Regions from separate parts of the Homo sapiens genome. Here all the other regions are linked to region 2. The links are contacts of gene promoters, found by promoter capture Hi-C in blood cells and fetal thymus (Javierre and others, 2016). All regions are on one chromosome and are shown on one strand. Each heading gives the region's core, a stretch centred on a gene start or on the middle of the fragment in contact. The rest is flanking DNA. Distances are from core to core; before and after follow the strand shown.

Region 1 (3,657 bases), core at 696-3,195, 160 kb before region 2:
ACTCTCCTTTGGCCACCGCCCAGAGGGCCACCGTTCCCTAGCCACTCCCAGTGTCTGGCCACCTCCTTAACTGGCCAACCCCACCTACCCTAAGTTTGCTGGATGTGGTGGCAGCTGGGGGAGGGGAGCCGAGCAGTGGGGACAGGAGGAGCCCGGGAAGGGTGCAGAGAAAGCCGCCCACGCTGCCCCTACGAGGCCGTGGTCTGGCGTGTCCTCACCTGTCTTTCAGGACTTGCCAGTTTATCTTGGGCTCTGCCAGCTCCATGAGCCTCCTCCGCCTCCTCCTCTTCCTTGCTTTGGTCATGGTGGTGCTGGGGAGCTTCTGGCTGATGGACAGCCGGCTTTGGGAGAATTCCACGTTGAAGTTGGAGCTGCTTTCCCGCCCCGATGCGTTTGGGAGCCCAGAGAAGCGTGGGTCTTGCTCAAGCGCCTTTTGTCTGCACTCACCCTGCCCACCCGCCTCTCCTTTCCCTCGAGGGGTCTCTGAGGGAGGACTTTGGCACCACGAAGGCCTGGACCAACCGCAGCTCCACTGCTCGCTGGATGGAAGACCCGTCCAGGTCACCTGTCTCCCCTGGTCCTCAGCTTCCTCCTCTGTGAATTGGAGGTGAGACCAGCTCCCACCTGGCGGGGCTGTTTTGGTGAGTACTAAGGTAGTGTTTACTCATCTCACAGACATCTGTCAAGTGCTTACTGTATGCCAGGCCCCAGAGGGGCAACCACCCTCTAAAGAGAGCGGCTCCTGCCTCCCAGAAAGCTCACAGACTGTGGGAGGGAAACAGGCAGCAGGTGAAGATGCCAAATGCCAGGATATCTGCCCTGTCCTTGCTTGATGCAGCTGCTGGCTCCCACGTTCTCCCCAGAATCCCCTCACACTCCTGCTGTTTTCTCTGCAGGTTGGCAGAGCCCCATGAGGGCAGGGCAGCCACTTTGTTCTTGGGCGGCAAACCTCCCTGGGCGGCACGGAAACCACGGTGAGAAGGGGGCAGGTCGGGCACGTGCAGGGACCACGCTGCAGGGAGGACGGGAGCCGAGTCCCAGAGGTATGTAGAGTGCGCGCCTTGCTGGGGACACTCCAGCAACTGCCCAAAATCAGCGCCCCCAGTGCTGATTGGCCGAAGCGTCAGTTCACCCAGAACGTGTTCCTCCCGACCATTTAAAACCTTTTAGCCACGTGTGGTGCTTAGAATGGTTTCAACTTTTGAGTTGGGAGGCTTTTTTTTTCCCATTTCTTATTCTCTCTGTCTGACTTGAGGCCATCACTCGCTAAACTCTGAACTCTGGGCACCTGAACTCAGTCTGCCTGACTCCAAACTCAGCGCTGTTTACTCCTCCTCCTGCCACCAGATAGGGGAGCGTCTGCTGGTGTCTGCCTCAGGGCCCAGTGAGGGGTGCTGGCCGCCAACCGACCAAGCCCACACCTAGGCTGACTCGGCAGGGCCGGGCCCCTCGGGAGCAGCGAGCCAGGCCGGTGGCCGGTTACGACCCTTTCGCCCGCCCAGGGGGCTGCTGCCCTCCCCCCACTGCCAGGGGCTGAGCCCTACCCCACCGCACCCAGGCAGGCCCGTTCCCCGGTGCCCACCTGATTTCAGGAATGTCCTCTTCCAAGTCCTTGTCCAGGACTCTCTCCAACTCAGAAAGTGCCTCTTTGGGATCCAGGGTCTCCGGGAACTCCTCCCCGGCCACCTCCTCGGGGGGAAGCTCCTCTTCTGGGTCTTCTGGTCCCAGCTCTGCATTGTCCAGGTCCTGGCGTTCGGGGTCTGTGACCCGCCGGCTCTCGTACACAGAGCTCTGGAGGCCACGGGGGTCGCCGTCCTGCTCCCTTTCCGACCTGCCCGCAGCCTCAGAGCTGGGCTGGTTCCCGAGTGACCTTCGCCTGCTGTCCCCCATACACCGGTCCCTTCCCAGCCCCCGCGGCCTCACTCTCCCGGCACCCAAATGTGTCTGTGGTGGCCGCGGCAACAGGAGAGCGTCCGTCACATTCCCCACGGTCCACATTCTAACCCGTGCGCCGTCTCCAATGCTGGTCACCTGGGCTTGCGCTGGGATCAGGACTCAGTCCTGGTGGTCACGGCTCACTCAGGACCTCCCAGGATTGGTTTAGGAAGGAGACCTGACGGGAACCTGCAGGGGCATCTAGCTATGGATTCCCTCTCTCAAAAGGAGACACAAGGAAGAGACCGCGTCTCCTGTTCCTGTCCCTGTGGGGCCCGTCGGTAATGTCCAGAGCCCAGGCAGCCTTCTTGTGACCATGAGGCCTGCCATCTGAGGGCAGATGAACTGAAAGGTGGGCCTTTGATGTGGCTGTCGAGCCTCTGAACTTAGCAGCCTTGGAATCCACTCTGTGTCCAGGCTTCTTGTTACTTGAAACAGTAAGTTTCCTTAGTACTAAGTCGTTTTGGCTTGGTTTCCAATTCCTAGCAGCTAAAACTGCACCCTAGGTGATACAGACGCTTCCAGCCCCAACCTCTCATGAGAAATAACTTCAAAATAGGCTGTTCCAACCCTCACAACAAAATAATGGTTATAACTGGAGTATTCCCCAGGCTGCTGCCTTCAGGAATTCCTCGTACGTCGCCAAAGGAGCTGAATTTCCAGCCTCTCCCCCTCTGTGCCCCACCCAGCCTCTCCCCCTGTGTGCCCCACCCAGCCTCTCCCCCTCTGTGCCCCACCCAGCCTCTCCCCCTCTGTGCCCCCACCCAGCCTCTCCCCCTCCGTGCCCCACCCAGCCTCTCCCCCTCCGTGCCCCACCCAGCCTCTCCCCCCCCGTGCCTCCACCCAGCCTCTCCCCCTCTGTGCCCCCACCCAGCCTCTCCCCCTCTGTGCCCCACCCAGCCTCTCCCCCTCTGTGCCCCACCCAGCCTCTCCCCCGTGTGCCCCACCCAGCCTCTCCCCCCTGTGCCCCACCCAGCCTCTCCCCCTCTGTGCCCCCACCCAGCCTCTCCCCCTCTGTGCCCCACCCAGCCTCTCCCCCTCTGTGCCCCACCCAGCCTCTCCCCCCTGTGCCCCACCCAGCCTCTCCCCCCTGTGCCCCACCCAGCCTCTCCCCCTCTGTGCCCCCACCCAGCCTCTCCCCCTCTGTGCCCCACCCAGCCTCTCCCCCTCTGTGCCCCACCCAGCCTCTCCCCCCTGTGCCCCACCCAGCCTCTCCCCCTCTGTGCCCCACCCAGCCTCTCCCCCTCTGTGCCCCACCCAGCCTCTCCCCCCCCTGTGCCCCACCCAGCCTCTCCCCCTCTGTGCCCCCACCCAGCCTCTCCCCCCTGTGCCCCACCCAGCCTCTCCCCCTCTGTGCCCCACCCAGCCTCTCCCCCTCTGTGCCCCACCCAGCCTCTCCCCCCTGTGCCCCACCCAGCCTCTCCCCCTCTGTGCCCCACCCAGCCTCTCCCCCTCTGTGCCCCCACCCAGCCTCTCCCCCTCTGTGCCCCCACCCAGCCTCTCCCCCTCTGTGCCCCACCCAGCCTCTCCCCCTCTGTGCCCCACCCAGCCTCTCCCCCTCTGTGCCCCACCCAGCCTCTCCCCCTCTGTGCCCCACCCAGCCTCTCCCCCTCTGTGCTGTGTGCCCCCACCCAGCCTTTCACCCTTCTGTGCTTGGTGGTTTTCTACTCATCATTGAAGACTCAAGCCTGTCGGTCCCCCACGCAGGGAGAGTCCCTGACC
Region 2 (4,164 bases), core at 415-2,914:
CGCCACCACGCCCAGATAATTTTTTGTATTTTTAGTAGAGACGGGGTTTCACCATATTAGCCACAATGGTCTCGATCTCCTGACATTGTGATCCGCCCGCCTCGGCCCCCCAAAGTGTTGGGATCACAGGCGTGAGCCACCGTGCCCGGCCTGTATGTTGATGCAGCTGTGTGTACCCAGGGCATAGCAACAATGCCACTGGCACAGTCCGAGGGCAGGGCCACCCGTCACGGGCACGACTCAGGGGAGGCTGGGCTGCCCCGTCCTCACCACGGCCAGTTCTCCCGACCAAGCTTCACAGCAAGGAGCATGTGGGTGTCTGGGCAGCCACTGAGCCAGGTCAGAAGTCAGGTGGGGTCACAGTGATGCCCGGAATCAGCTGGGGTCAAGACTCAGGTGGGCTGGGCGCGGTGGCTCATGCCTATAATCCCAGCATTTGGGAGGCCGACGCAGACGGATCCCTTTATTAGTCCAAACTGCATCCTCCCCTTCCTTTCAAAACCTAACAACACACTTGAGGTCAGGGGTTCGAGACCAGCCTGGCCAACATGGTGAAACCCCATCTCTACTTAAAATACAAAATTAGCCGGACGTGGTGGCGGGCACCTGTAATCTCAGCTACTCGGGAGGCTGAGGCGGACACTAGCTTGAACCCGGGAGGCGGAGGTTGCAGTGAGATTGTGCCACTGCACTCCAGCCTGGGCCACAGAACGAGACTCTGTCTCATTTAAAAAAAAAAAAAAAAAAAAGACTCGGGTAGGACAAAGGTCAGGCTGGGAGGAGGGCACAGCCAGGCTCGGGCTCAGCTTGGGGTGGGGGCTCCGTGGGGCTGGCGCCTCTCCCGGGTCAGGTGCTGAGCCGATGCTGGCCGGCGTAGGCCTCTTTCCCAGTTTCTCTGGGGGGCAGGAGCACCTTGCCAACCTCTGATGGCTCCAGCGCCTGCACTCGCCTCACACCACATGGTGACTTCAACGGGGACCAGGGAAGCCCTCGCCCCTCCCACCCCTCAGAGCCCTCCCCGACCTCGCCCACTTCTCAGAGCTCCCGCTGTCGGGGGAACCGAGGCAGCGCCGCGCCTGGAAGCCAGGTCTGCGGATCCCGCCTCGCTCCCGCCCCTTCCTCCCTTCCGCGTGGCCAGCGCGACCCTAGGACAGACTTCGCGCCCGTCCCCTGCACAGACGGGGAAACGGAGACGGGGACGCGGGGTCGCGCCGGATGGACCGGCCCTGCCCCTCCGGTCCCGGTCAGGACCCCGCGCCGCGCCCCGTTCACCGCCCGCGGCCCCGCCCCGCGCCGGCACGTCACAAAACAACCCCAAAGCCGGGGGACCGGGCCGGTGACGGCGCAGAGCAGCCCTGCCCGCCTCCTTGCGCACAGCGTCCGCGGTGCTGGTCGAGCAGGGGGCGACGGCGGCGGCCTCGGGGATCGGAAGAGCCCGGGGCTGCGCGCTCGAACCCTCCCTCCCGGCGGAGGCGCTCGGCGCCGTAGGCGGGACCGGGGCCGGGACTCCACCTCCCGGCGTCCCCTGCGGCCGGGCGCGCAGGCGCAAGTCGGACCTGGCCGCGGAGCGCAGGCGCAGTCGGGGCCAGGCGGTGCGCGCAGGCGCAGCGGGGGGCGGGGCGCGCGGGCCCGGCCAAGGCAAGCGCCGGTGGGGCGGCGGCGCCAGAGCTGCTGGAGCGCTCGGGGTCCCCGGGCGGCGGCGGCGGCGCAGAGGAGGAGGCAGGCGGCGGCCCCGGTGGCTCCCCCCCGGACGGTGCGCGGCCCGGCCCGTCTCGCGAACTCGCGGTGGTCGCGCGGCCCCGCGCTGCTCCGACCCCGGGCCCCTCCGCCGCCGCCATGGCTCGGCCGCTAGTGCCCAGCTCGCAGAAGGCGCTGCTGCTGGAGCTCAAGGGGCTGCAGGAAGAGCCGGTCGAGGGATTCCGCGTGACACTGGTGGACGAGGGCGATCTATACAACTGGGAGGTGGCCATCTTCGGGCCCCCCAACACCTACTACGAGGGCGGCTACTTCAAGGTGAGCGCGGCGACCCCCGCCCGGGTCCCGGAGCCCACGAGCGACCTCGGGCGCCGGGAACCAGCTCCCTGCCCCGCGGTCCTAGCGCTGTTGCTGGGCGGGCCCCGAAGCCTCCTGGCTTGGGCTCGTTTCCCTTCTATGGCCACGTTCCCCCACCCAGCTCTGCCCGGCCCCCTCCTCGGACCGTCTCGGGGACCTTCAGCCTCTGCTGCAGTCCTCGAAAATCCCCAGTTCCCTTCAAGGCATCGTCCGGTCCCCTGTTAGGCTCTTGGCCCCCGGAGGGGTGGCCGGGGGCCCTCCCTGTAGCATCTGGGCGTGGGGCTCTTGCCCACCTCCTCCTTGGCGGGGGCTGGACCCCGGCTGCCTCCCCCTCCGCCCCTGCGAGAAAGAGGGAGCGGAGCCCAGGCCGCGCCGGCCTTTCAGCTGCCCTCCCCGCCCTCCCCGGAGGAGACAAAGAGGCCCCCCCAGACCCCGTAGCTGCTATTGTTGGGGAGCTGGGCCCGTGAGCGGGGGAGCGAGGCCAGCCTGGGGGTGGCTGGCGCGGCCACTCGCTCAGTCTCCAACAAAGGCCCGGATGAGCCTTGGCAGCCAGGACCCGCCTGGAAAGCGGCCACCCTTGCCAGTAGCAGCCGGCCAGGCGCCCTGGGCTCCATCCCCTGCTTTATGTAACCTGCGCCCTCGGGAAGGCCGAAGTAGGGGCGTGCCTCCCACCTGCTCCCTGCAGCTCTCTCCAGGCCTCCCGGCTCGGGCCCGCGTCCCGGACCCCGACCTCAGAAGCTCCGGGCTCGCTCATCCCAGCTGGTCTTGGCCTTTCTCAGAGTCCACTGAACAGGTGGCTTCTTGGGACCCAAACCCCGAGTTCTGGGCCGTTTCTTCTGCCCTCTGGCGGTTTAATTCCAAGCAGTTTCTGGATGTTTTTGTTGTTGTTGGGAGCGGGGAGGCTGTTTCTGTCTCATGTGAAAAGGACTCAGGCCAAAACCAGGGCAGTTTTCTTGATCTCACGATCCAGACGTGACCTTTGACTTCTTTTAGCGTTCAGGGACCTCGTTCTTGGGGCCAGAGGGACAAAGCGAGGGGCCCTGTGTGAGCGGTGGGGAACGAGCACCCTGTCCAGGAATCTCCCCCTCCCACCGTCACTTCCTGCCAAGAGCCTGGACACGACACGACACTGCAGGGCCCGGCCCGCTCTGCCCCGGCCAGCTGCGGGCGTGGGGCCGAGGGACCGATGCCTCCCGCACGATATGTGTCTGCTCTCCGAGCTAATTAGTGTCTGAACCGCACCCGCTCAGCGGCTGTGAGGGCAGCAGCCTGGTCTGCTGGGGGCGATTCCTGAGCAGAGAGTGGGACGCCCGTGGGTTCTGCATCTGGAATCCTGCGTCCCCACACAGGGAACAGAGTTTGGGTCTCGAGGTTGCCAAATGGTTTTAGCAGCTCCTCCGCCAGCCCCTTCTGTCTGCTTGGGGGAGCAGCTGGCTGAGGAGCCGCAGCCCCACCTCGAAGCCAGGCCTGTGAGGCGGCTGCTGTTCTGGAAGGAGGGGATGGGGGTTTCTGGCTGCTGTGCCCACCAGACCGGTTGCCAGGGATTGTGGGCAGAGCTTCCTGGGCCAGCATTAGGGGATAATCCGGTTTTCCGGATTTCCCAGGGAGGGGGCCTCTAGACATCTGCCACAGGGTCAGTCCTCAGAAGCCAGTGTTGAGACGGGGGTGCTGCCACCCACGAGGACTCTCCCTTCCCGCTGTGCCTGGGAGGGAGTTGGGGGAGCGTGGAAATACAGAACCTGCTGAGTGCCCAGGGCCGCTGCTGCCCAGCCACTGCCTGCAGCTGCTGTTCCTTCAGGAGCCAAAGTGAGCCCTGGGGCAGGGGCCGCCAGAGAGAGCCCTCCACAGCCGACTTGCTGTCTGCCCTTGGCAGGGCGCTTTCCTTTTCTGAGCCTGGGTTTGCTCCGGGGAAAAGACATTCTTAGAGGTGCCCAAAATAAGAGGCTCATTGGGACTTGGTGGGGTTTGGTACAGATGAGGCCTTGGCTGTTGTCAAGGATTGCCGCCTGAAACCCAGCACCAGGCTTGGGGGGCCTGAAGTCTTGGGGAACCGCAGGACAGTTCTGAGACTGAAGTTCCAGCCTTGCTCTGTGGCCGCGGCCAAGTCACTTG
Region 3 (3,922 bases), core at 592-3,091, 190 kb before region 2:
ACGCTCAGCACCTCATACTTGTTGGTCCTAACCCACCCACGTCTCTCTCTGACCAGACTCTGCATCCCTGTAGGAGAGGCCCTGTCTGCTCCATTCACTCCCAGATCCTCAGGCCGAGGACAGAGCGGGACCTCCTTAGAAAATCAAATCAAATTCACTCAACAGGGCACCACCCCAAAGTGTAAAACAGGGTTAACAGGAGCAGCCGGACCACAAGCTGCTGTGCACATTTACGGAGCTCAGCCTAGAGCAGGGCAGAACAGCCACATGGCAGCTCTGGGGGAGGCTGGCTTGGGAGTCTGACTTGTGCCATCCCAGACACAGAGCTACCTGTCAGGCCACGTGTGTTGCCCAGATTCCAGGAGCACAACTCATTCGACCACCACGTCGCTGCAGGGCCACTGGGAGACGCGGCTTCTGCCTCCGACCCTGGAGGACAGCCACCATCTGCATGGGGACTCAGTCTCCCTAAGCGTCTCAAGAAGAACTAATTCTCGATGAAGGAACTGGCCGGTGGTCTGGCCTAGTATCGAGACACCTACACCGTCTTTGGCATAAACACAGGGCCTGTTACTGCCCCTGAGGTCGTCACCAGGGGGAGAGAATGGCCAGTCCTGCCTCCCACAACGCCCAAGACATAAACACGCAACGTGGCACCACGGCCAGGCCGCAGTTCCAATCCCGGCTTCCCACGAGGCGGCTGTGCCTGGCTGGGTGGGCACCTTTTCCTTTGGGCTCTATCCCAGAGATAGGATCAGCTCTTGAGTCTGCCCGCCTGTCGTAACTTCTGCGCACAGAAGTCATGCACTGAGTCCCACTGACTGAGCACCTCGCAGCCGCCGCACCTTCACCTACATTATCTCTTTCCATCTTCACCAGGGCCCTCCAAGGTGAAAGCAAGTCCACACAGGCTCATCCACCACTCCAAAATCAAAAAAAGCTTCAAAAGCGAAAGTTTCTTCCTTCCTGGTTTGACCTGACACGAAGCTATCTGTTGTCTTATCCTAGACAGTCCTAGGTGGGTTTGATCAAACATCACAGTCCAAAATCCCACAGATCCTCAAATTGGAAAAATTCTGGATTCCAAAATATAGCTGGTCCCAAACATTTCAGATAAAGGGTCCCGGGCTTGTTTCCTGGACGAGGGAGGAGGCTCCAGAAGTAACTTCGTGCCCGGGAGAGGCTGGTCCAACTCTTCTGAGATCAGCCCCGACGCTCTCTAGGCCCCGGCAGACCCACCCACCCTGCGCCCAGTTCGCGCCAGGCGGGTCCGCGTCGGGAGTTCAAATCCCGCCCGGGGTCTGACCCAGCCCCGCCGGGGGGCTCGCGGGCGGCGGAGGCGCGGTGGGTCCACCGGGATCCCGATGGGGAGCGCGGGGCGCCTGGCGGCCCCAGCACTCGGCAAAGTTGGCAAAGGCGCGGGAGGGGAGGCCTGCGCGCCGCGGGGCCCGGGCCGGGGCCGGGAACCGGAGCCGGACCCTGGAACGGAGCCGCGCGCCCACCGGACCCCCGACACCAGCCCCGCCCCGCGTCCCTCCCCTCCCCCACCCCGGCCCCCGCCCGCCCCGCGCCGCCGCGCATGCGCACTGCAGCCCGCGATGTGGCAGCCGGGGGAGTTGGGGGGTGGGGGCCGGCCGGGGGCGGCCGCCGATGGAGCCCCGCGCCCCTCCGGCCCCGGACGGGCCAGGCGCCCCGGCCGGCCTCAGAGCTCCAGAGCGGGGCTCTCCGTCCCTGGGGCCCACGACGAGGCCGAGCCACGGCGGCGGGGGGCGCGGACGCGCGGGGGCGGGGGGCCGGCTCCCCCGGCCCGCTCACTCACCTCCGCCATGGCCGTGTGTGCGCGGGAGGCGGTGGCCGCGCCGGGATCCCCGGATGAGGGGCCGCGCACTCATTGGCTGTGGAGCCTGGAGGGCGGGGCAGGGGGCGGAGCCTGGAGGGGGCGGAGAGCGGGCCGGGCGCGTAGTAGGTGCGCGGGCGCGGGCGCGGGCGCGCAGCCGAGCGTGGCCGGCGGCTTCTGGCGAGCTTGCGGTGTCTTTCCGGCCGTCTCTGCTGGACCCTGATCTTGGCCTTGGCCTTGGCGGAGGAGACTGCATTCCATAAAAATACGAATTCCTGATAATCACACCTGCGTGGGGACCACGTGGTCCTGTGTGACCTCTTCATTCCCTCGGCTGCTCGCTGTTAATACCCCGCGTGGCAGACTAGGAAACTGAGGCCCAGGGCGACGGGCCACCCAGAGTGTCAGTGATAGAGCCAGAATTGGTGTCCGGGCTGCGTGGTTCTGGAATTTTCTGCACTTTCGCACCCGTGATGAGCAAACTAGCGCGCGGAGGAACCAATCGGGGAGCTTGCGAACGCGCACCAGTCGGAGAGGTTTTAGAAACGGTGGCCCCGCGCCGGAGAGCCCAAGGCGGGAGGCAGGGAGGTGGGCTTGACCCCAGGGCCATTTGGTTCTGCAGTCCGTCGTTTCGCAGATTGAACATTTCTGGAACACGTGCACGTTCTGATCCTGAGGGTTTGAAGGAGACAGCCCTAACGCCTGTCTTCAGGGCGTTTAGAGTGGAGGATGGGAAGGCAAGGACTCGCCACACCTTAAATTTGAGACGGATAAGTGCCGTGAATCTTCGGGGCGCACGATGCAGAGAGAGGATAGGAAGCAGGGGTGGGGCGTGAAGAGGCAGGGGCCAGGTGGGAGCTGTGGGGCCTGGACCAGAGTGCAGAGAGACTTGAGAAGGTGGACACCACAAGACTCGCTGATGGAGGGAAGCTGGAGAGAGTGAAGGATGGCCTCCAGATGTCTGGCTTGCGCAAATGAGTGGAGGGCGGTTCCTACTGAGACCAGGAAGAAGAGAACTGGAGACCAGGAAGAAGGGAATTGGGGACCAGGAGGAAGGGAATTGGGGACCAGGAAGAAGAGAATGAGTCTCATTCCTGTTTCCCAGTGATCAGCCAATGAATAGTGAGAACTTGACATGCATCAGCCTTGATTCCTGATGCAAAATCATTACTCAGTCCTCTGAGAATTCACCAACCAAGAGATAGAAGAACCACTCTGGAGGGGTCTACCCTCACTCCTTTTTTGGTTTACATCATTGAGATTGAGGGTTCTGGCCCTCGTGTTGAAGAGTCCTCACTGATTTGTGCAAGAGTTGGTTCCTTCCTTTATTATTCATTTGTTATTATTCATTCAGTCATTCAGTGAACTAAACACATATCTTATGCAGTCCTCAACTGGGTGCTGGGTAGCCAGAGGTCCTGTGAAGCAGGGAGAAGCATGAACAGATAAGAGAGTGAGGTGCTGTGCTGTAACAGGTGGAGGGGCCCGAAGACAAGGGCTTGAGTCCACCTGGCAAAACGAGGGAAGACTCTTAGGAGAGGGCTTGGCAAGAATCATCACATAGATGTCAAATGAGGACTTGGGTGAAGAGAAGGGTATTGTGGCTTGGAACGGTGACTCACACCTCTAATCCTAACACTTGGGGAGGCAGAGGCAGGAGGATCACTTGAGGTCAGGAGTTTGAGACCAGCCTGGGCAACAGGGTGAAACCCTGTCTCTACTAAAAATACAAAAATTATCCGGGCGTGGTGGCGAGTGCCCATAATCCCAGCTATTCTGTGGAGGCTAAGGCAAGAGAATCACTTGAACCTGGGAAGGCAGAGGTTGCAGTGAGCTAAGATCACTGCACTCCAGCCTGGGAAACAGAGTGAGACACTGTTTCAAAAAAAAAAAAAAAAAACTTTAAACATTAGAGGGCATGACGATAATGTGCCTGTAGTCCCAGCTACTCTGGAGGCCGAAGTGGGAGGATCTCTTGAGCCCAGGAGGTCGAGGCTGCGGTAAGCAGTGATTGTGCCACTGCACCCCAGCCTGGGCAACAGAGTGAGACCTGTCTCAAAAAAAAAAAAAAAAAAGAGTGAAGGA

The links. Contacts are between HindIII fragments. The CHiCAGO score rates a contact against its expected background, and 5 or more counts as called.
Region 1: the fragment with the promoter of SPMAP2 here is called in contact with the fragment with the promoter of CDC34 in region 2 in 1 of 17 cell types (naive CD8 T cells); the score reaches 5.2 in naive CD8 T cells.
Region 3: a contact is called between the fragment with the promoter of MIER2 here and the fragment with the promoter of CDC34 in region 2, in 2 of 17 cell types (naive CD8 T cells and total CD8 T cells). The highest score is 9.2, in naive CD8 T cells.

Annotation. Positions count from the first base shown.
Region 1 is chr19:374,081-377,737 of GRCh38, forward strand. SPMAP2 (sperm microtubule associated protein 2) reads right to left here and starts at 1,946. Exons shown (of 8, transcript NM_016585.5): 1 at 1,583-1,946; 2 at 219-341. The coding sequence starts at 1,890. The HindIII fragment of the contact is 8,842 bases long and covers 1-3,657 here.
Region 2 is chr19:530,096-534,259 of GRCh38, forward strand. CDC34 (cell division cycle 34, ubiquitin conjugating enzyme) reads left to right here and starts at 1,665. Exons shown (of 5, transcript NM_004359.2): 1 at 1,665-2,013. The coding sequence starts at 1,837. RefSeq lists silencers at 1,170-1,909, 2,330-2,499 and enhancers at 1,706-2,362, 2,760-2,809, 2,880-3,039, 4,022-4,164. The HindIII fragment of the contact is 9,081 bases long and covers 292-4,164 here.
Region 3 is chr19:342,955-346,876 of GRCh38, forward strand. MIER2 (MIER family member 2) reads right to left here and starts at 1,842. Exons shown (of 14, transcript NM_017550.3): 1 at 1,820-1,842. The coding sequence starts at 1,828. RefSeq lists an enhancer at 1-898 and silencers at 1,207-1,316, 1,617-1,666, 1,737-2,186. The HindIII fragment of the contact is 25,759 bases long and covers 939-3,922 here.